Regions from separate parts of the Homo sapiens genome. Here all the other regions are linked to region 3. The links are contacts of gene promoters, found by promoter capture Hi-C in blood cells and fetal thymus (Javierre and others, 2016). All regions are on one chromosome and are shown on one strand. The core of a region is centred on a gene start or on the middle of the fragment in contact, and the rest is flanking DNA. Distances in the headings are between cores, read along the strand shown. Region 1 overlaps A2ML1 (alpha-2-macroglobulin like 1). Region 2 has its middle 3.3 kb from the start of PHC1. Region 3 holds the start of CLEC4E (C-type lectin domain family 4 member E). Region 4 has its middle 22 kb from the start of PHC1. Region 5 holds the start of M6PR (mannose-6-phosphate receptor, cation dependent). Region 6 has its middle 31 kb from the start of LINC00612. Region 7 has its middle 20 kb from the start of KLRG1.

What was found. Contacts are between HindIII fragments. The CHiCAGO score rates a contact against its expected background, and 5 or more counts as called.
Region 1: a fragment that was not itself captured here is called in contact with the fragment with the promoter of CLEC4E in region 3 in 2 of 17 cell types (naive CD8 T cells and non-activated CD4 T cells); the score reaches 6.7 in naive CD8 T cells.
Region 2: a contact is called between a fragment that was not itself captured here and the fragment with the promoter of CLEC4E in region 3, in 6 of 17 cell types (neutrophils, M1 macrophages, total CD8 T cells and 3 more). The highest score is 7.3, in neutrophils.
Region 4: a fragment that was not itself captured here is called in contact with the fragment with the promoter of CLEC4E in region 3 in 7 of 17 cell types (total CD8 T cells, neutrophils, naive CD8 T cells and 4 more); the score reaches 11.8 in total CD8 T cells.
Region 5: a contact is called between the fragment with the promoter of M6PR here and the fragment with the promoter of CLEC4E in region 3, in 5 of 17 cell types (monocytes, neutrophils, M1 macrophages and 2 more). The highest score is 9.6, in monocytes.
Region 6: a fragment that was not itself captured here is called in contact with the fragment with the promoter of CLEC4E in region 3 in 3 of 17 cell types (total B cells, naive B cells and endothelial precursors); the score reaches 7.8 in total B cells.
Region 7: a contact is called between a fragment that was not itself captured here and the fragment with the promoter of CLEC4E in region 3, in 1 of 17 cell types (endothelial precursors). The highest score is 5.1, in endothelial precursors.

What each region holds. Positions count from the first base shown.
Region 1 is chr12:8,872,965-8,875,664 of GRCh38, forward strand. It overlaps A2ML1 (alpha-2-macroglobulin like 1), which reads left to right. Exons shown (of 36, transcript NM_144670.6): 34 at 1,461-1,563; 35 at 2,007-2,048. The coding sequence ends at 2,047. Among named protein-coding and RNA genes, the nearest start is that of PHC1, 40 kb to the right of the region's middle. The HindIII fragment of the contact is 9,645 bases long and covers 1-2,700 here.
Region 2 is chr12:8,909,851-8,912,550 of GRCh38, forward strand. No RefSeq gene overlaps it. Among named protein-coding and RNA genes, the nearest start is that of PHC1, 3.3 kb to the right of the region's middle. RefSeq lists an enhancer at 1,792-2,344. The HindIII fragment of the contact is 1,500 bases long and covers 515-2,014 here.
Region 3 is chr12:8,539,483-8,542,182 of GRCh38, forward strand. It overlaps CLEC4E (C-type lectin domain family 4 member E), which reads right to left and starts at 1,423. Exons shown (of 6, transcript NM_014358.4): 1 at 1,279-1,423; 2 at 373-465. The coding sequence starts at 1,315. The HindIII fragment of the contact is 5,761 bases long and covers 1-2,700 here.
Region 4 is chr12:8,890,915-8,893,640 of GRCh38, forward strand. No RefSeq gene overlaps it. Among named protein-coding and RNA genes, the nearest start is that of PHC1, 22 kb to the right of the region's middle. The HindIII fragment of the contact is 4,563 bases long and covers 1-2,726 here.
Region 5 is chr12:8,948,197-8,950,896 of GRCh38, forward strand. M6PR (mannose-6-phosphate receptor, cation dependent) reads right to left here and starts at 1,449. Exons shown (of 7, transcript NM_002355.4): 1 at 1,292-1,449. It also overlaps a transcript of KLRG1 not described here. RefSeq lists enhancers at 713-1,618, 1,619-2,523, 2,022-2,151 and a silencer at 1,829-2,043. The HindIII fragment of the contact is 9,162 bases long and covers 1-1,925 here.
Region 6 is chr12:9,032,689-9,035,388 of GRCh38, forward strand. It overlaps a transcript of KLRG1 not described here. Among named protein-coding and RNA genes, the nearest start is that of LINC00612, 31 kb to the right of the region's middle. The HindIII fragment of the contact is 5,098 bases long and covers 1-2,700 here.
Region 7 is chr12:8,968,591-8,971,290 of GRCh38, forward strand. It overlaps a transcript of KLRG1 not described here. Among named protein-coding and RNA genes, the nearest start is that of KLRG1, 20 kb to the right of the region's middle. The HindIII fragment of the contact is 937 bases long and covers 974-1,910 here.

The sequences.
Region 1 (2,700 bases), core at 112-2,611, 330 kb after region 3:
CTCTCCTGTATACTTGTTTTGTTTTTTATTTTTTTAAATCACTTTCCCCAGAAGGAAACAATCTCCTGTATATTTGTAAGAGAATGAGAGTGGAAAAAAAAAGTCTTAATATCATTCTAAAAATAATTCTGACCTCTCAGATATTCTGATGCAATCTCGGGGATCCCTGGAGTAGGGGAGGTCCCTCGACCACACTTTGAGAAGCACTATACCTGAAGAACTTTGGAAATCCCTTCCAATTAGGCGTTAATAGCGCTATATCTAAATTTATAATACGATTTTTTTTTTTTTTTGAGACAGGGTCTCACTCTGTTGCCCAGGCTGGACTTCAGTGGCCCGATCTTGGCTCACTATAATCTCCACCTCCTGGGTTCAAATGATCCTTCCACCTCAGCTTCCCAAGTAGCTAGGATTTATTTTTTTATATTAAAGTAACTTATACAATTGCCTTAGATTCTCCATTTGCTAATTTATTCAACAAATATTTACTGAACAACCAACATATGCCAGTCACTTTTCTAAGTGATGGAGACGTAGCAATGAAAACAATAGATATGATACCTGGCCTAAGAGTGCTGATATTCTAGTGGAGAGACAACAATATTCAGGTTTTTAAAAATTACATGTATATGTGTATACACACACATTTTTTTTCAGTAGTAATAAGTGCTATGCAGCATAAGGGGATAAAGAGTGCTGGTGGGGCAGGCCAGGGATGTGACTCTTTTTAAATAAGGTGTTCAAGGAAAGCCTCTTTGAGGAGGTATCATTTGCTCAGGGACCAGATTGAAGAAAGCAAACCAGTAAGGGGCATAGAACTGTTGGAGTAAAATGCAAGCCTCTGTTTCTCTGGCCACTTTGACTAATTTAGTGGAGAAGCCATGGGTCAGGGTGGACCATGAACAAAGGGAACCAGTTCACAAGAGGGCCAGAGAGCTGTAAGATCCTAAGAAGAAAGAGCCAGGAAGTCAGCAGGAGGCAATGTCTTTAAGACTCATAGGGCAGTAGCGGTACATAGAGGGTTTCAGAGAATCTTTTTTTAATTAAAAAAAAAATTTTTTTTTAATTTGAGATGGAGTCTCGCTCTGTCGCCCAGGCTGGAGTGCAGTGGCGCCATCTCGGCTCACTGCAACATCTGCCTCCCAGGTTCAAGCGATTCTTCTGCCTCAGCCTCCTGAGTAGCTGGGATTACAGGTGCCAGCCACCATGCCCGACTAATTTTTGTATTTTTAGTAGAGATGGGGTTTCACCATGTTGGCCAGGCTGGTCTGGAACTCCTGACCTCTGGTGATTCACCCACTTCGGCCTCCCAAAGTGCTGGGATTAGAGGCATGAGCCACCGTGCCTGGCGGGGCTTCAGAAAATCTACATGAAGACAGCAAGGGTCTTTTATTCCACATTGCATACAGTGTAATTTTCATTTTACTTCTAAGGTACTGTTTCATCTGTCTTCCCCACAGCTCATTAAGAACACTCAGACTTACACCTTCACCATCAGCCAAAGTGTGCTGGTCACCAACTTGAAACCAGCAACCATCAAGGTCTATGACTACTACCTACCAGGTGAGAGGGCTGAGCTGAAATGAGATCTGAGATCTTACCTGCATCTCCCAACTTACTTCTGCCTCATTCTTCATGGCTTCTCTCTTAATTTTACAAATACTCCTTCCCAAGCCAAGTAGCACATAATTAAATTATCTAATCTCCTAAAATATTTTAATTCAGTTGTGTGCCATTTTTAAGTTGCGTACACTAGAGACATTTTATGTGATCGGAGAACAATGTGAACCATTGTTCTCAAAGGGCTATTTCTATTATTTTTGGTATGATTAATAGTTTGTCACAATGTACAAATATTAGTGATTGAAACTTTCTTGTAATTCTGAATATGCTCATAACCTGTAGAGATTCTCTGGAAGGGGCTCAAGCAGTAGCTTTTCTGAAGCATTTTCCCTCTGAATATAGGAGGCCCTCAAAGTAATAATATGACTTATTTCATTTCACAGATGAACAGGCAACAATTCAGTATTCTGATCCCTGTGAATGAGGTAAGTCCAGCGGAGAAATGGGTGGAGTTATGGGTTAGGGTGGCAGAAGTTAAGAGGAGCCTCTTTTCGAGTTACTGTCATTGTCTTTTTTTGAGATAGAGTCTCGCGGTGTTGCCCAGGCTGGAGGGCAGTGGCGGAGGTTGAGTGGCTCACTTCCCAGCTTCAAGCGATTCTCCTGCCTCAGCCTCCTGAGTTGCTGGGATTATAGGCGCCCACCATGATGCCTGGCTAATTTTTGTATTTTTAGTAGAGACAGAGTTTCACCATGTTGACCAGGCTGGTCTCGAACTCCTGACTTCAGGTGATCTGCCCACCTCGGCCTCCCAAAGTGCTGAGATTACAAGCATGAGCCACCACACTCAGCCCTGTTATTGTCTTTTGGAAGCTATTGTTGATAGAAAGTGAGCTTTCCTTTTTTGTCTTAAACTTTTTTTTTTTTTTTAAACAGGATCTGGCTCTGTTGCCCAGGCTGCAGTGCAGTGGCGTGATCTCAGCTCACTGCAGCCTCTGCCTCCCAAGTTCAAGCGATTCTTGTGCCTCAGCCTCCTGAGTAGCTGGGATGACAGGCACGTGCCATCACGCCCAGCTAATTTTTTTTGTATTTTTAATAGAGATGGGGTTTCGCCATGTTGGTCAGGCTGGTCTCAAACTC
Region 2 (2,700 bases), core at 15-2,514, 370 kb after region 3:
GAGGATCCATTTCCTTGCTTTTTCTGGCTTCTGAAGGCTTCCCACCTTACGTGGCTTGTGGCCCCCTTCCAGTGTCAAAGACAGAAATGACAGGTTAAATACTTCTCATGTCACATCACTGAACCTGTCTTTCCTGCCTCCCTCGTCCACTTTTAAGGACGCTTGTGATTACACTGGGTTGCCAAGGTAATCCATGATAATCTCCCTATTTTAAGGTCAACTGATTAACAACCTTAATTCCAATTGCAACTTTAATTTCTTTTTGCCATGGAGCATAACGTATTCACAGATTTCACAGATGGGGACATCCTTGGTGGGGGGGCATTGTTCTGCTTACCACAGTTTATCAGTAGACAAGAGAGAAAACAGCCAATTTAGGGAAATAATATATATATCTCTATTTTCTGCTGAGACATCTCCACAGTGTCTTTACAGACTGATAACTAGAGCTATTTCTCTAGTTAACAAAGGCAGAGTGGCCTTCCATTGCAGGTATTTACCATGGCAAATGCCAAGCTTCTTTGTGCAAATGTTTATGTGTGTGCTAAGCATTTTAAATAGATCTTTTGCATCACTCTATTTTCACACTGTGAAGGATATAATGTAGTTATGAGCTTTGAAGATGGACAGACCTGAATTTAAATTCTGACTCCATTACTTATTACACCTATGAACCTTGAGCAATTTACCTAATCTTCCAGAGCTTTAATTTCCTCATCTATAAATTAAGGATTAAAAACAGCTAGCAGAAAAGGTTATTGAGTTGAATGCAATAATGCATGTGAGGCCATGAGCAGAGGCTCTAAGTATATTTTGAATTGTTTTTCCCTTTAGATGTTTTCCCAGGTACCTGGTTCTCTGGGCCTAGGACACATAATCCCAGAGGGTATAAATCTAGTGCTTGGTCCCAACATGGTTTTGCTCCCTAAATACTGAAATAGTAGACAAGACGACACACCTGAAGCCCGAAAGAGGTAAATTTAGTATACAAGGAAGGGAATACTCTTTGTTATATAAAATAATAGTAAGTTCACTAAACTAATTAATGCATAAACTCAACTAAATTGTGAGTTAATAAGGTTGTGATGTAAACTGAATAAAACATAAAGAATGGTTTAGTTCTATTTGGTGATCACAAAAATATATTAGTTACTAAGGAAAATTAATAATAGCCTGTGCTATGTGTCAGGTCCCAATGTGAAGTGCTTTACAAACATCTCACTTATTTCCACCAACTACCAGGTGTTACCCCTGTTTTACTGAAAGCAAACCAAAGTTAAGGAAAGGTGCATAACTTGCCATCATTATAACTGTCAATACTGATGAAGAGTATGTTATCGTCAGTCTTATGCTCCTTAAGGATGTAGGGGTACTTCTATATCTTTTGCGGGCAATGATGGATGGAATATTGGGCTGAACCAATTAGTATGTTAATTTTAAACTTCTGCTTGAAGAAAGGATCTATGGTAGGTATTAGTAGCGAGAGATGAGAGGTATCCTTTATATCTTTTAATTTCATATTCTTTTCCTATGAGAGAAGGGCAAGAATCTAGGAAATTAATTCAGTTAACTAATATTTATTGGACATTTTCTATTTTCCAGGGATTACGAAATATCCCTCTTCTACATTTATCATTTAGACTTCAATTGTCTTCACTGAAAACTGAGGGGCTTAGTTTTAAAGTTCTTTTTTTTTCCTTTAAATATCTAAGAGCCTATAAATCCACTCAATCTTCATTTTCTCCCAACTAGACCTTAAAGTGGCATGCAGAATTATAGTGAGACACAGGTGGGCTGTGTATGGTGGTTCACAGCCACAGTTGGTGGTGGGGAGAGTAAAGGTTATGATTTCCTTTTTTCTCTACTTCTTCCTATCCATATTTGCATAAAAACATGGTCACACATTCTTACTTGATTACTTGTAGAAAGACACATTCCAAAGATACTAACACCTTTAGGGTAAAGGACATCTCTTCCTTCACAATTTATTGCAGAATGCTAGGTTTACAGGAGAAGCTTGAGGAATGCTTAAGCAATGTTCAGTTGATATGAAAAGTTCTATTAGCTTAACTTCTAGTCTATTTGCTTCAGTTGCTGCCAAACATCGACAGCCTTTCAAACCAGGATCCTTCCTTATTTAGAGAAGTTTGCAGGAGGGCTTCCATTTCCATACACCGGATTAAATGCTTTTCCTTCTCACCTGTTTAGGCTAATGGCCTTCAGTGTTATGCAGAGTAAAGACATTCTGTAGCCTCCATTCAGAAGAACCATTTTGTTTGAAAAAGAAAAGTCTAATTCAAGCAGAGTCATTAAATGAAAATGAGAAACTTTAGAAAAATTAAGAAAAAAAAGTTGAGTATTCTCTAGGGAACACAGATTGTTTTGCTGTTTAGACCGAGATAAGTTCTTCAATGCCTGCTCTCAAGCTGATTTAGTCTATGAAAATGATTTTCTTATGGATGGAGGCTTTCCTATAACTTTACTTTGCTGTTGATATATTTCTTTTTTATACTAAATCTTTTTTGGTGGGAACTGTTTAGACCTATGACCTTAGAACACTGGCCTGACTTGGAGAAAAATGAACTTGAAAAGAATCCTGTGATATATGGAGCACACACCTTTACATATAAAAATTAAACTACTGGCCCATAATCAGTATAGCTCGCCTCATGATAGATTATTCTCAGGCTAAATTTATAA
Region 3 (2,700 bases), core at 173-2,672:
ACTCTCTCTACCCTTCCTTCCAAAAGTAATTAGTCATATCTCTGGTGCCGACCAGTAGTTCAAGCTCTAAGGCAGACTCTCCTAGAGAAGGTTACACTAATGATAGAGGCTGAAAGAGGAGGATTCAGGACTGCCAAGGAAGTGAAAAATGTCTATCATGAAAAGTAAGTCACAGGTGATTAAAATTCAGAAACAGTTCCCTGCTTGTTGAGGTTTCTGGTTTGAGAAATAACCTAGAGATTAATAGGGAAAAAAAAAAGGGTGAAATAGAAAGACCCTTTGAGGGCAAAGAGAGTCTACAGGCAGCATGGAAGAGTTTTCTCCTAATATGCACCAGGAAGAATTAAATTGAATTTGACCTTCAGAACCCACCAACACATCTGGTGATGAAACAGGCACTGAGAAATAGGATGGGGATCCCAGCAACAGTCCATAAGAACATTTGGGAAGAGAAGCATCCTCTCTCTGTAGAAAGAAAGACACAAACATGATCAATCTTCCCTAAGCAAGGTACAAAAGAGATAGAAGAGATTCTTATTCATCCTTACTTATTTCCTTCTACTTCCATTGTTTGTACTGAGTAATTCCCAAATTTCAGCATGCTTCAGAATCACTTGGAGGGTTTATGGAAACACAGATTGCTGACCCTTACCCCCAGAGTTAGCAACTCAGTAGAGTTTGTATGGAACCAACAAGTTCCCAGGGGCTACTGCTGCTGCTGGTCTGAGGACCACACGTTTAGCACCCCTGGAGTAAGACTCTGACTCATGAACTCAGATATACAATTTTTCCTTTCTAAGTCTCTCAGTTAAATTTTTTTCAGTATTTTCTAAGGCCCCCCTTCTTTCTTTTTCTTTCTTTTCCCTTTTCTCGTCTTTGCTTTTCTTGTCCTTCTCCTGATCTTTTTTTTTTTTCTGTGTCTCACTTTTCAAGCGCTTTGTAAATTAGGTAAAATGTTAACAGTCATCTAATAGTTCCTCTCTTCCTCCCATTAAACATTTTACAGACAAAGAGAGTTCCAGAGAAGTGAAGTGACTTGCCAAAAGGGACACAATGTATTGCAGAAAGGGTGGAAACTGATAGCTCTCCCTTAGCTAGAGGCCAGCAGGCTTTCTGGTATAAGAAATAGTCTTTAAATCTCTCTCTCTCTCTTCCTCTGTCCCCCCACTTTTTTTTTTAACTTCAGTGAATACTTTTCTATTGTCCTGTCTTTCACCATATTTATCACTTGTTCCAAAAAGAGATCTATGGAAGGAAAGGAAGAGTTGCAGATTTTACCTGTGCATTGTGTTTCAGATGATTTAGATGAATTCATTTTTTCTCTCTCTTTGGTTTTTTGTTTCTCTCTCTCTCTTTTTCTCTCCCTCCCTCTCTTTCTTTCTCCTCAGGAGTGTTTTGTTGGTAAGATTCAGGGAGAATGAATCTTGAAAGATAAACACTTTGTCTTTTAGGAAGTTCAGCTCCGATAGATGTAGAATATTAACTTGTTCTGTGGCTACGCATTAAGTCAGGATTTCCTTTCTTGCATAAGGAGGACAAGGAAGTTTATTGGACAGCATGTCAGTTCTCTTCACTCCATGTAACAACAAAATGAGGAAATTATGAAATGGTAAGCATCAACACAAATAGGCTAGCCATGGGGAAACAGGAGAGTTTTTTTTTTAAATGTTGTTTCGTTTCGTTGGACCAAATGTCTCTAGTTTCTTCAAGGCATAACTCATCCCCCAGTTTTTCCTTGACAATATGGAGCTCACCTCTGCACTCTGAATTTCACTTTGGATCTGTACCATCCACACATTTGGTAACTGAAAAGAAGACTTAGACAACATAGCACAAAGCTGGGCATATAGTGTATGTATTTAGGACATGGCAACCTGAATTTTTTCATCTTTTTTTTTTTTTTTTTTTTTGAGACAGAGTCTCGCTCTGTCGTCCAGGCTGGAGTGCAGTGGCATGATCTCCGCTCACTGCAAGCTCCGCCTCCCGGGTTCAAGCCATTCTCCTGCCTCAGCCTCCCGAGTAGCTGGGACTACAGGCGCTCGCCACCACGCCTGGCTAATTTTTTGTATTTTTAGCAGAGACGGGGTTTCACTGTGGTCGTCAGGATGGTTTCAATTTCCTGACCTCGTGATCCGCCCGCCTCAGCCTCCCAAAGTCCTGAGATTACAGGCGTGAGCCACCGCGCCCGTCCTCTTTTTCATCTTTTATGGTTTTTCTTTCTTCTTCATTTGCAGCTCTTGAATATTCTAATGTTGTGGATTTATGTCCCTCTTATCTTATGCTGACTACTAGGCTGCTACTACTAGGCTGACTACTAGAGTCCCCCTCAGCAGGACAGCCTCATGTGATTAGACCACTTTGAAACTCAGCTTAGTTTTTCACAACATAACGCAGCTTCTGAAGTCTCAGAGACCCAGCAGGCAGTTTAATTCTCCTGTTCTCAATTATTTGGGGATTTTAGTTCTATGTTACAGCCTACAGTAGGAGAAATGTATTTGAAGGTCAGAAAAAGCAATTTCAATTAGATATTAGAATTTAATGGTTCTCTGGGCCGGGAGCAGTGGCTCATGCCTGTAATTCCAACACTTTGGGAGGCCAAGGTGGGTGGATCATTTGAGGTCAGGAGTTTGAGACCAGCCTGGCCAACATGGTGAAACCCCACCTCTACTAAAAATACAAAAATTAGCCAAGTGTGGTGGC
Region 4 (2,726 bases), core at 61-2,560, 350 kb after region 3:
TATTACTTTTGCCAAATGTCAGCGCCCTGAAATACACCACCCGAAATCTCACAGATAGGCAAAGCTGGAGTTTATTCATGTCTTAGCAAGGGAGCACACCGCCTTGCGGAAACTTGAGCAGCATCTGGGAGGGGAGGGCAAAGGGAGGATATTTATGAGGTTCTAGGTTGGATTAAGGTGGGTCTTTCAGTGAAGGGCTCTGATTAAGTTTGGGTACGGATCATGATTTAGCAAGGTGAGGGCTTAAAAAAGTTTTGGAGCATGAATAATCATTTGATAACTGTACTGGAAAGCTAAGCAATTTAAAATACGTTGTCTGGATATTCCTGAAATGAACAATAACATTATTTAAAAGTTTTATTTTAAAAAGTTTTTTCAGTTAAAAAAAATTAAAGGCATAAGTATGATACAAAGGACTTTGGGGACTTGGGCGGAAAGGGTGGGAAGGGAGAGAGGAATAAAAAACTACAAATTGGGTTCAGTGTATACTGCTCGGGTGATGGGTGCACCAAAATCTCACAAATCACCACTAAAGAACTTACTCATGTAACCAAATACCACCTGTGCCCCAATAACCTATGGAAATAAAAAGTTTTTAAAAATTTCATTTTGTGAGTGCAGAGTAGGTATATGGGATACATGAGATGTTTTGATACAGGCGTGTGATGTGTAATAATCACATCCGGGTAAATGGGATATCTATGACCTCAAGCATTTATCCTTTGTGTTACAAACAATACAATTAGGCCAGGTACAGTGGCTCACGCCTGTAATCCCAGGACTTTTGGGAGGCTGAAGTGGGTAGATCACTTGAGGTCAGGAGTTGGAGACCAGCCTGGCCAACATGGCAAAACCCCATCTCTGCTGAACATACAAAAAGTAGGCGGGCGTGGTGGCGGGCGCCTGTAATTCCAGCTACTCAGGAGGCTGAGGCAGGAGAATTGCTTGAACCTGGGAGGCAGAGGTTGCAGTGAGCCAAGACTGAGCCACTGCACTCCAGCCTGGGTGACAGAGTGAGACTCTGTTTCAAGAAAAAATAATAATACAATTGTACTTTTAGTTATTTTAAAATGCACACTAAATTATTATTGATTAGAGTCACTCTGTTGTGCTATCAAATACTACATTTTATTCATTCTATTTTTTTGTACCCATTACCCATTCCCATTACAGCTTTTATTTTTGGGGCAAGGGCTTCCTGAAATACTAAAGTCTTGTTGGTAAAGACAGTAGAATAGCAAAGTCAAGCTAATGTAGGCAGTAAAGTGTGTGGGTGGGGCTTGGCTAATTCTCAGTTTCTGGTATATCTTTTCAGAGATATTCTGTGCTTATTCAACTATACATGTATAAATTTCTTTTATTATTATTTTTATCTTTTTATTTTTTTTTGAGACAGAGTCTTGCTCTGTCACCCAGGCTGGAGTGCAGTGGCACGATCTCGGCTCAGTGCAACCTCCGCCTCCCAGGTTCAAGTGATTCTTCTATCTCAGCCTCCCAAGTAGTTGGGATTATAGGCTCCCACCACCAAGCCCAGACAACTTTTTTGTATTTTTAGTAGAGACAGGGTTTCACCATGTTGGCCAGGCTGGTCTCACACTCCTGACCTCAAGTGATCCTCCCCTCTCGGCCTCCCAAAGTGCTGGGATTACAGGTGTGAGCCACCGTGCCCAGCCTATACATGTATAAATTTAAGAAATGTGATATTTTCCCCTTTACCAGTTGTTGCAGAAATCCAGAAACTGAGTATGAGATATTCCTTAAATAATGGCGATCCAACAGCGTTTGCTCTGTGGTGATATGTGATGTACTTTCCCAAAGTACGTATATTTACGTATTTTGTGTTGAATGGAATTACCGTTTGAGGTATTCTAGTGTTTTCCCTCTCAGCAATTTATCTAACAGATTATGGTTTTGGCAAAATCTGTGGGGCACATTTTCTTATTCCTGGTTTCCTCTTTTCCATCACAAAGCAGAGTACAGGGCTGAGTGGCAGGGGACAGAAATAATTATTCCATAAGCACTGAAATCTGAAGGCCAGCAGAGGGGCCTTCATTAAGTGCGAATCTGTTGGGCACCCACTGAGTAGTGAACAGGATGAATGTGACAACCACACTCCCTGCCCTTCCCAGGCTTGCAGCTTAGTGAGGGAGAGCAACACTGCCTGCCCTTCATTAGGGGGATGAATGTGACAAAGCACAGTCAGGTTGTGGGAACCTAACCTAATCTTTGGGCTGAATTAAGAATTCCCAGAAGTGACACTCAAGTTGCAAGATGAAGAATAAGCAGGAATGAGACAGGTGAGGGGTGCGGTGTGGGAGGATTGTTCTTGTAAGGGGAGATAGCCTATGCCTTCTCTGGAACCGAGATTACTTTTCTCCGTGTTTCTGGTTTCTGTGTTCCGCCATTTGTTCTGTACATCTTGTGGTCTGCTTTCCAGATTTTTTTTTTTTTTTTTTTTTTTGAGACGGAGTCTCACTCTGTCCCCCAGTCTGGGGTGCAGGGGCGCAATATCGGCTCACTGCAAGCTCCGCCTCCTGGGTTCACGCCATTCTCCTGCCTCAGCCTCCCAAGTAGCTGGGACTACAGTCACCCGCCACCACGCCCGGCTAATTTTTTGTATTTTTAGTAGAGATGGGGTTTCACCGTGGTCTCGATCTCCTGACCTCATGATCCGCCCGCCTCGGCCTCCCAAAGTGCTGGGATTACAAGCGTGAGCCACTGCGCCC
Region 5 (2,700 bases), core at 199-2,698, 410 kb after region 3:
GGATAATAAATTTATACTGTATTCTTCTTTCCTGCTTAAGGCTTGTCTTTAAATTTAAGCTGCTTCTCTTTAATTCAGTGGCATATGCGCTAAATGTTTTCCCTAGATTATGTTCATTCATCTTCACAACCCAGAAAATAGGTATAATTTTTCATACTTCACAGATGAGAAAACTGATGCTTTACAGAATTACTTGTTAAATTACTTGCTGTACATTACACAGATATTAAATGTGTGTGAAGTTACTGGGGCAATTTAGACGATTCGTGGCATAAAGATAACTGCTGGAAAACTTATAAACATAGGGGTGCAACAATCAGGAAGAGAATGAAATGGAAGGGCCCAGTAGCCCCCTTTTAATATGCTACAATTAGATTCTCAAGGTACAAGAGTTTGTCTATATACTTTGGAAATAAGGAGCAGGATTTTATGATCTTGAAAAATCTTTCAGTTTTCTTATTCTCTAACGACAGATCTATTTTATTTGGCAATGCTAAAAATTATCCTTTATTAGGGTGGCCAATGACTAAGCCAGCAACTGGGAAGCAGCTTACACCACTGGGCCTCTGTAGCACTCACTTCCCCATCTGTTAAGACAGCCATGGCCATTTACCAGTGGAATTTCTACTGTCTTCCCGCTGGCTCCTTTCTGATGTAGCAGTCCTTATCCCTTTTTCTCCAGCAGCCTACATGTTTAGAAAAGCAGCCTCAATTGGCTAAAAGGCCTAATGCTGAAAGAACTCAAGAGAGAAGGAGCCTCAGACAAGTAGCGGCTATGTCCCAAGAGCGGAAGCTCCCCACAACGAGGAACACAAGATAATCCGTCCATCAGCCATTCTTATCCACACCACAGTCGCATCCCCCTCAAAGCTCTCCCAGGGTGCCAGAAATTCTCGCTCTGTCTAGTGTCCCGACTTTCCAAGCGCTTGTAGCCATACCCTCTCCAAATGATGCCACTTGACCTCCCACCGTGATGCAGGCCAAAATTCCTCCTACAAATAAATCCACCAACACCTCCAACGGACTCCATACTTGGGGTATTTTCCTTTCCCTGCTTTCTAAATATCGTAAATCCCCTCTCTGGTCTTGGAAGTCCTTTCTCCCTCACACCTTTCGGAACTCCGTGACTCTCCGCTCTCATGCCTCCGCCTCCATTCTACCCTTAGGGCTCCTCAGCCAGATCTTTGGCTAGAACCATGGTCAAGGGAGAATGCGATTCCGGCTCCTGTCACAGACGCTTAAGTGTGAGCGCAACCCAGCCCGCCTCCTCCTCCACGCCCCTCACACTCACGTGTCGTGGGAAACTGGAGTAGCCAAAGCTCAGAATCCCCAGTGAATACCCTTCTGGGGATGGGAGACGGGGCCAGCTAGGGGCCGGCCGCAGACCCCGGTCCCAGAGCTAGTTTCAGAGGCCAGCGTTCCCCCTAGCGCCTCGCTGTGCCCCACTCTGGGAACCGGAAACAGGAAGCGCCAAGAGGCCGCTGGGCAACCGCTCCTCCCACCAGACCCCGCGGCATGTGACCATAGAACCATTTCGCCCCTTTCCCCTTCCCGGGCTCCCTGATAATCTTAAACTCTGATTGGCCAGTATTCTGGGACTTTAGCTCCGCCCTCGTTCCATCAGCTCCAATCACTATCGAGGTTGTCGTTTCGCCTTTTCTGGTTGCCTTTCTTTCAATGGGGTCCCAGAGTCCCGCTTCCAGGGCCTCTCGGCTCGCGCACCCCGGTCACGCGGGGTCACGCGCCTGACCGCTCCCGGGTAGGGTTCGAGTGAAGAGGGTGAGAGGGGCAGGTGGCGGAAGCGGAAGTTACGCAGGCAGCTCGCCCTCGGGCTCCGCGGGAGTTGTAGTTCTCACGCTAGGTCTCCTCCGGGCGCTTCCCTAGCCCGTTCGCCGCCTGAGAGGGACGCTGTTCCGCCGCGTGGAAGCTTCGAGTCTCGACTCCACTGTTGACCCCTAGACGAGAGTAGTGCAGCGACGGGGCCGTGATGTGCGTCCTGGCTTTCTTAACGACACCTCTCCTCTGTATTTCCTTTTTCCAGTTGAGTACCTTGGGGTGAATTATTATTGTTACTGTTATCTCTGTCGTTCCTTACTGCTTCGTGGTATTTTGCTTGATAAGCATGCTCTGCAACCACCTCTGTTCGCCAGAGGTTACTTCTGCAAAGTAGGAAGAAACGAGCAATACGATGGTAATCTTTGCGCCTTTGCTAAGATCTTTTGTAGGTTCCTTATGTCTTACTAGCCACTTGTTGAAGTCCTGCTCATTCTTAAACTCTGTTCAGATGTTATTTTTCCTGTAACTTCGTGCATTCACTCTCTTCAGAATTAACAATTTCTTCCTGTGGACCCTCGCTTGTGGCTTGTACCTGGCTTTAGCATGTTTTCATTCCGCTTCCACTCTTACGTTGCTTCTATGTGTGCCTCTCTGGCTCTATGCAGGTGCCTGGATTTTTGATTCTTACCCCTCTCATTAGAACTACTACAGTGTTTTGAGTCTAATAATAATAAAAGCTAACGGATGCATATCTCGGTGGTGCCCGGCACTTTTGTAAGTGCTTTAAACGATAGTTAATTCACTTGGTCTTCACACCAACCTTATGAGGAAGTATCTTATCCCAAGTTTACAGATGAGTAAATTAAAGCAGATAGAAGCTAAGTAACACCGTGGGTCCCAAGCTATTAAGTTATGGAGCCAGTA
Region 6 (2,700 bases), core at 51-2,550, 490 kb after region 3:
TCCTGTAGATGACATCAACTGTTATAGAACCCAAGATTGGCCTTTTGAGATTTTTTTCAGACTGTTAACGTTTCTCATGACCAGCTGACTCGGGCCAGACCTGCAACTCATGAGTCAATCAGTCCTGTAGCCCTACCCAGAGGCCAATTCAGTGCATGAAGACTATTTTCCACACTCCTATGATTTTACCCCAATCAATCAATATTCCCCATTCTCTAGCCCTCTGACCACCAACTATCCTTTAAAACCCCCAAAACTTTGAGCCTTCAGGGAGACTGATTTGAGTGATATTTCTGGTTCTACTACATGAGTTAGCCTCCTGTCAATCAAACTCTTTCTTTACTGCTATGCCGTAGTCTCAGTGAATTGATTTTGCCTGTGCAGAGGGCAGGAAGAAACTGCCGGTGATTACATGATTGCAGAGACAAATTCCTTGAAAGAATTTGTGAATCAAAAGATTGCTGGGGTCTGGGTGTAGTGGCTTACATTTGTAACCACAGCACTTTGGGAGGCCAAGGAGGGAAGATCGCTTGAGCTTAGGAGTTCAAGACTGGCCTGGGGAACGTAGAAAGTCATCATCTCTAACAAAAATAAAAAAATAAAAGAATTAGCTGGGCAAGGTGGTTTATATCTGTAGTCCCAGCTACTAGGGAGGCTGAGGTGAGAGGATCACTTGAGCCTGGGTGATAGAGGCTACAATGGGCTACAATCATACCACTGCACTCCAGCTAGGGTGACAGAATGAGACTCTTTAAAAAAAAAAAAGGGGATTACTGGGGTATTTCCCCTCCCACCCTGATTCCAAGTGAGAGGGGAAACAAGAGGGCACTTTGGGGAAATTGGGCACTGCTTGCTGAAGGCAGACAGAGTCTTACTCCTTGGCTCTATGCTTGCTCAGCTATGGGAGCTTGTAAATTTGAGACAGCATGGAGAATAAAAAAGTGTTTGGAAGAACCTGACCTATGTCCCTTACTGAAGAGGACAAAGACACTTTTGTGTGACTATTGTTTAGAGAGGCCCAGTGGTGAGAAGTTAGCAGAAGTTGCTCCTGATGACAGGGTAAGGTGGGGTGGCTTCAAGGCTCAGCTTCACTATTTGGTGAGTGGGTATATGAGCTCCCCTCATCCCAGAAGTAGCAGATGTGGGTTTGCGTCCTCTACAAAGGGCTTTATCCAAGAGGACTCCCTATCGGTGGGAGATCCTACAAGAAAGAAGCCATGTTGGATGCTTCACTAGAAGTTGAGAGCTAAGGTAAAGTCACAGGAGGCCTCCCAGAGAGCATCTCACCTGTATCAGGGAATGATGCAGTGCAGAAATTCCTCAGGGATGTATCTCTGTGTAGGATCTCCTAAAAATCCATTGAAGAACCCCATGAGAGACAATTGGTATTTGTGTATTGTATCAGTCAGGTTTCAACCACAGAAGCAGAACCAGTAGAAGAGATACATACAGTCATGCACAGCATAATGATGTTTCGGTTAACAATAGATCACACATATGCCGTAATTATATCCATAAGATTATAGCGAAGCTGAAAAATTCCTAGTGACATCCTATCTCTAGGGACATCATAGCTGTCATAACATCACAGCACAACACATTACTCATTACTCACGTGTTCGTGGTGATGCTGGTGTAAATGAACCTACTTCACTGCCAGTCATGTAAAAACCATAGCACATACGGTTATGTATGATACATAATACCTGATGATAATATGTGCCTCTGTTATTGATTTATGTACTTAATATACCATACTTTTTTTTTTTCTTTTGAGATGGAGTTTCACTCTTGTCACCCAGGCTGGAGTGCAATGGTGTGATCTCGGCTCGCTGCAACCTCCGCCTCCCCGGTTCCAGCGATTCTTCCGCCACAGCCTCCCGAGTAGCTGGGATTTACAGGCATGCGCCACCATGCCCGGCTAATTTTTTGTATTTTTAGTAGAGACGGGTTTCATCATGTTGGCCAGGCTGGTCTCAAACTCCTGACCACAGATGATCCGCCCGCCTCGGCCTCCCAAAGTGTTGGGATTACAGGCGTGAGGCACCGTGCCTGGCCATTATACTTTTTACTGTTATTTTAGAGTACATTCTTTATACTTATCCATTAAAAAATTTGTTAATTGTAAAACGGTCTTGGGCAGGCCCTTCAGGAGGTTTTCCAGAACAAGGCATTGTTATCACAGGAGAGGACAGCTTCATGCGTGTTACTGCCCCTGAAGAACTCCCAGTGGGACAAGATAAGGAAGTAGAACAGTGATATTGATGATCCTGACCCTGTGTAGGCCTTGGCTAATGTATGTTTTTGTGTCTTAGTTTTTAACAAAGCTATTTAAAAAGTAAAAAAAAAATTAAATAGAAAAAAACTTATATAATAAGGATATAAAGAAAGAAAATATTTTTGTATAGCTGTACAATACATTTGTGTGGTAAGCTGTGCGTTCATACAAAAAAGTGTAGTTTGGAGATTTCTCGAAGAACTTAAGACAGAACTACCTTGGAACCAACCCAAATGTCCATCGATGATAGACTGGATAAAGAAAATGTGGCACATATACACCATGGAATACTATACAGCCATAAAAAAGGATGAGTTCATGTCCTTTGCAGGGACATGGATGAAGCTGGAAACCATCATTCTCAGCAAACCATCACAATAACAGAAAACCAAACACCACATGTTCTCACTCATAAGTGGGAG
Region 7 (2,700 bases), core at 192-2,691, 430 kb after region 3:
ACAGCATATCAGTTAAACTGTTTAATTGACATTAATATAACATTTAGTCCAACAAATGAATAATGTACATTCTTTTCCAGTGCACACAGACTTTTACCAAGATAGCACATATTCTGGCCATAAAACAAGTTTTAATACATTTACAAGGACTGAAATCATGCAAAGTATATTTGACCAAAACAGAATTAAACTAGACATCATTAATAAAACAATACCTGGAAAATCCCCAAATATTTGAAAATTAACAGTTTTTCTATAACCCATGGGTCAAAGAAGAAATAATGAATTAAATTACCAATATTTTGAATTGAACAAAAATGAAAACATTATCATCATCAAGGGATGCAGCTAAAGCAGTGCTTACAGGGAAATTCATAGCATTAAAATTTTAGCATTATGCTAAAATTTATAGCATTATTATTTTTTATTTCCACAGAGTGAAGTTTATCCTCAACAAAGCTCTCCTCTCCCATCTCCAGCCTTGGACAGGGTAGGACAGGTAGGGGCTAAGATGTGGCTCCAGTGGTTGAGGGGCCTCTGAGAAACAAGTAAGGGCCCTGGGCTTCCAGGCAAAACCGTGTCTGGCTCCTCCAGCCAGGCTGAGTCTGCTGTGCCTCCCTGCCCAGGCCTTGGGAAAGAGGAGGGTGCAGTGGCTCCTGGCTAGTTCCAAAGTGGAGTGTGAAAATGGTGAGTTGTTTACATGCAGTGGCCAGTACAGCGTGGTACTCACACCTCTTTCTGGAAGTTGCCATTGGGTGGCTCTGTGGGCTCCCAGGCTGTTGCTCAGTGCAGTCAGCCGTTCTTGGGAGTTCTGGGGGAAGAGCCCAGTGTCATGGATTTGAGGGCATTCCAGCTCTGAGGTTGCAGGCTTCTCCTTGGCAGTGGGCTGGCTACCGTAGCAGGTGAAAGTGTGGAACTTCTGGTTGAGCTCTTTTATTTTAGTTAAAAAAAAAAGTCTCAAATCAATGATCTAAGCTTTCACATTGAGGAATGAGAGGAAGAGGAGGAAATTACACTTAAAGTAAGCAAAAGGAAGAATCTAATAAAGAGGCACAAGACATCAATGGAATAGAAAATAGAAAAACAACAGAGAAAATGAAGCCAAAATCTAGTTTTTTAAAGTGATCAATAAAATTGATAAAATGTTGACAAAATGACTAGAGGAAAGGCACACATTTCCAATATCAGGAATCAGGGAGGTAAAATCACTATAGATTCTAAGCCATGAAAAGCATACTAAGGGCTGGGCATGGTGGGGCTCATGCCTGTAATCTCAACACTTTGGGAGGCCAAGACAGGTGGATTGCTTGAGCCCAGGAGTTTGAGACCAGACTGGGCAACATGGTGAAACCCCATCTCTACAAAAAATACCAAAGTTAGCCAGGTATGGTGGTGCATGCCTGTGGTCTCAGCTACTCTGGAGGCTGAGGTGGGAGGATTGCCTAAGCCTGGGAGGTTGAGGCTGCAGTGAGCTGTGATTGTGCCATTCTCCACCAGTCTGGGCTACAGAGGGAGACCTTGTCTCAAAAAACAAAACAAAACAAAGCAAAACAACCACGATAATAAGTGGTCAGTAAAATCTGGCCTGTGTGCCTAATCTGGCTTGCCATTTCTTTTGTGAGTAAAGTTTTATTGGAACACACACACAACTATTTACATTGTATCTATGGCTGCTTTTGTACTATAGTGGCAGAAGTGAGTAGTTGTGGGAGACCACATTGCCAGAAAAGCCTGAAATATTTACTGTGTGGCTTCTTACAGAAAACGTTTGCTGATCCCTGACTTAGATGAAAAGAACAAATAAATTGACAGACACTAACTACCAAAGTCACTCAAGGAAACAGATAGCCTGTATATTCCCCTATCCACTGAAAAAATTGAATTTATGGTTAAAGTTTTCCCACAATGAAAGCTTTGGGCCCAGATGGCTTCACTGGTAAATTCCACTTCTTCCTTTTCATCTTTTATTTATTTACTTTTCGGCTTCACTGGTAAATTCCACTTCTTCCTTTTCATCTTTTATTTATTTACTTTTCTCTAGGATTTCAGTACAGTGTTTCATAGAGTTGCTGAAATAAGACATCCTTGCCTTGTTCTTAATCTTACTGAGATAACATTCAATATTTCACCTTAAGTGTGTTAGGTTAGTTGTAGGTTTTATGTAGAAGCCATTATCAAATTGAGAAAGTTTCCTTCTGTTCTTTTGCAGACCTTATTTATTCTGAATGGGTGTTGAATTTTTTTTCATGCTTCTTTCTGCTTCAGTTCACGTGATCTATATCTTTTTTCTTTTTCATTATGTTAATATGGCAAAGTACATTGATTGCTTTTAGAATGTTAAACCAACATTGTACATTTCTGGGATAAACTGTACTTTGTCATGATGATTTATTTTATATTTTTATAGATATTTTGTTAAAGATTTTCATGTCTATAATCTTGAAGGCGGAGCGTCTGTAATTTTCTTTTCTTGCAATTTTTTGTCAGGTTTGGTATCAGAGTCATAATGGCCTCCTAAACCAAATTGGGAGAGTGTACTTACATTTTCTACTTTTTGAAGGAGCATTGTTATTTATTTCTTAAAGTTTAATATAGTATGCTATTGAAGTCACCTGAGCACGAAGTTTTCTTTGTGGGTAAGTGTGTATTAACCAATTCTTTTTTTTTTAGTGGTAAAGAGCTATTCAAAAATTTATTTCT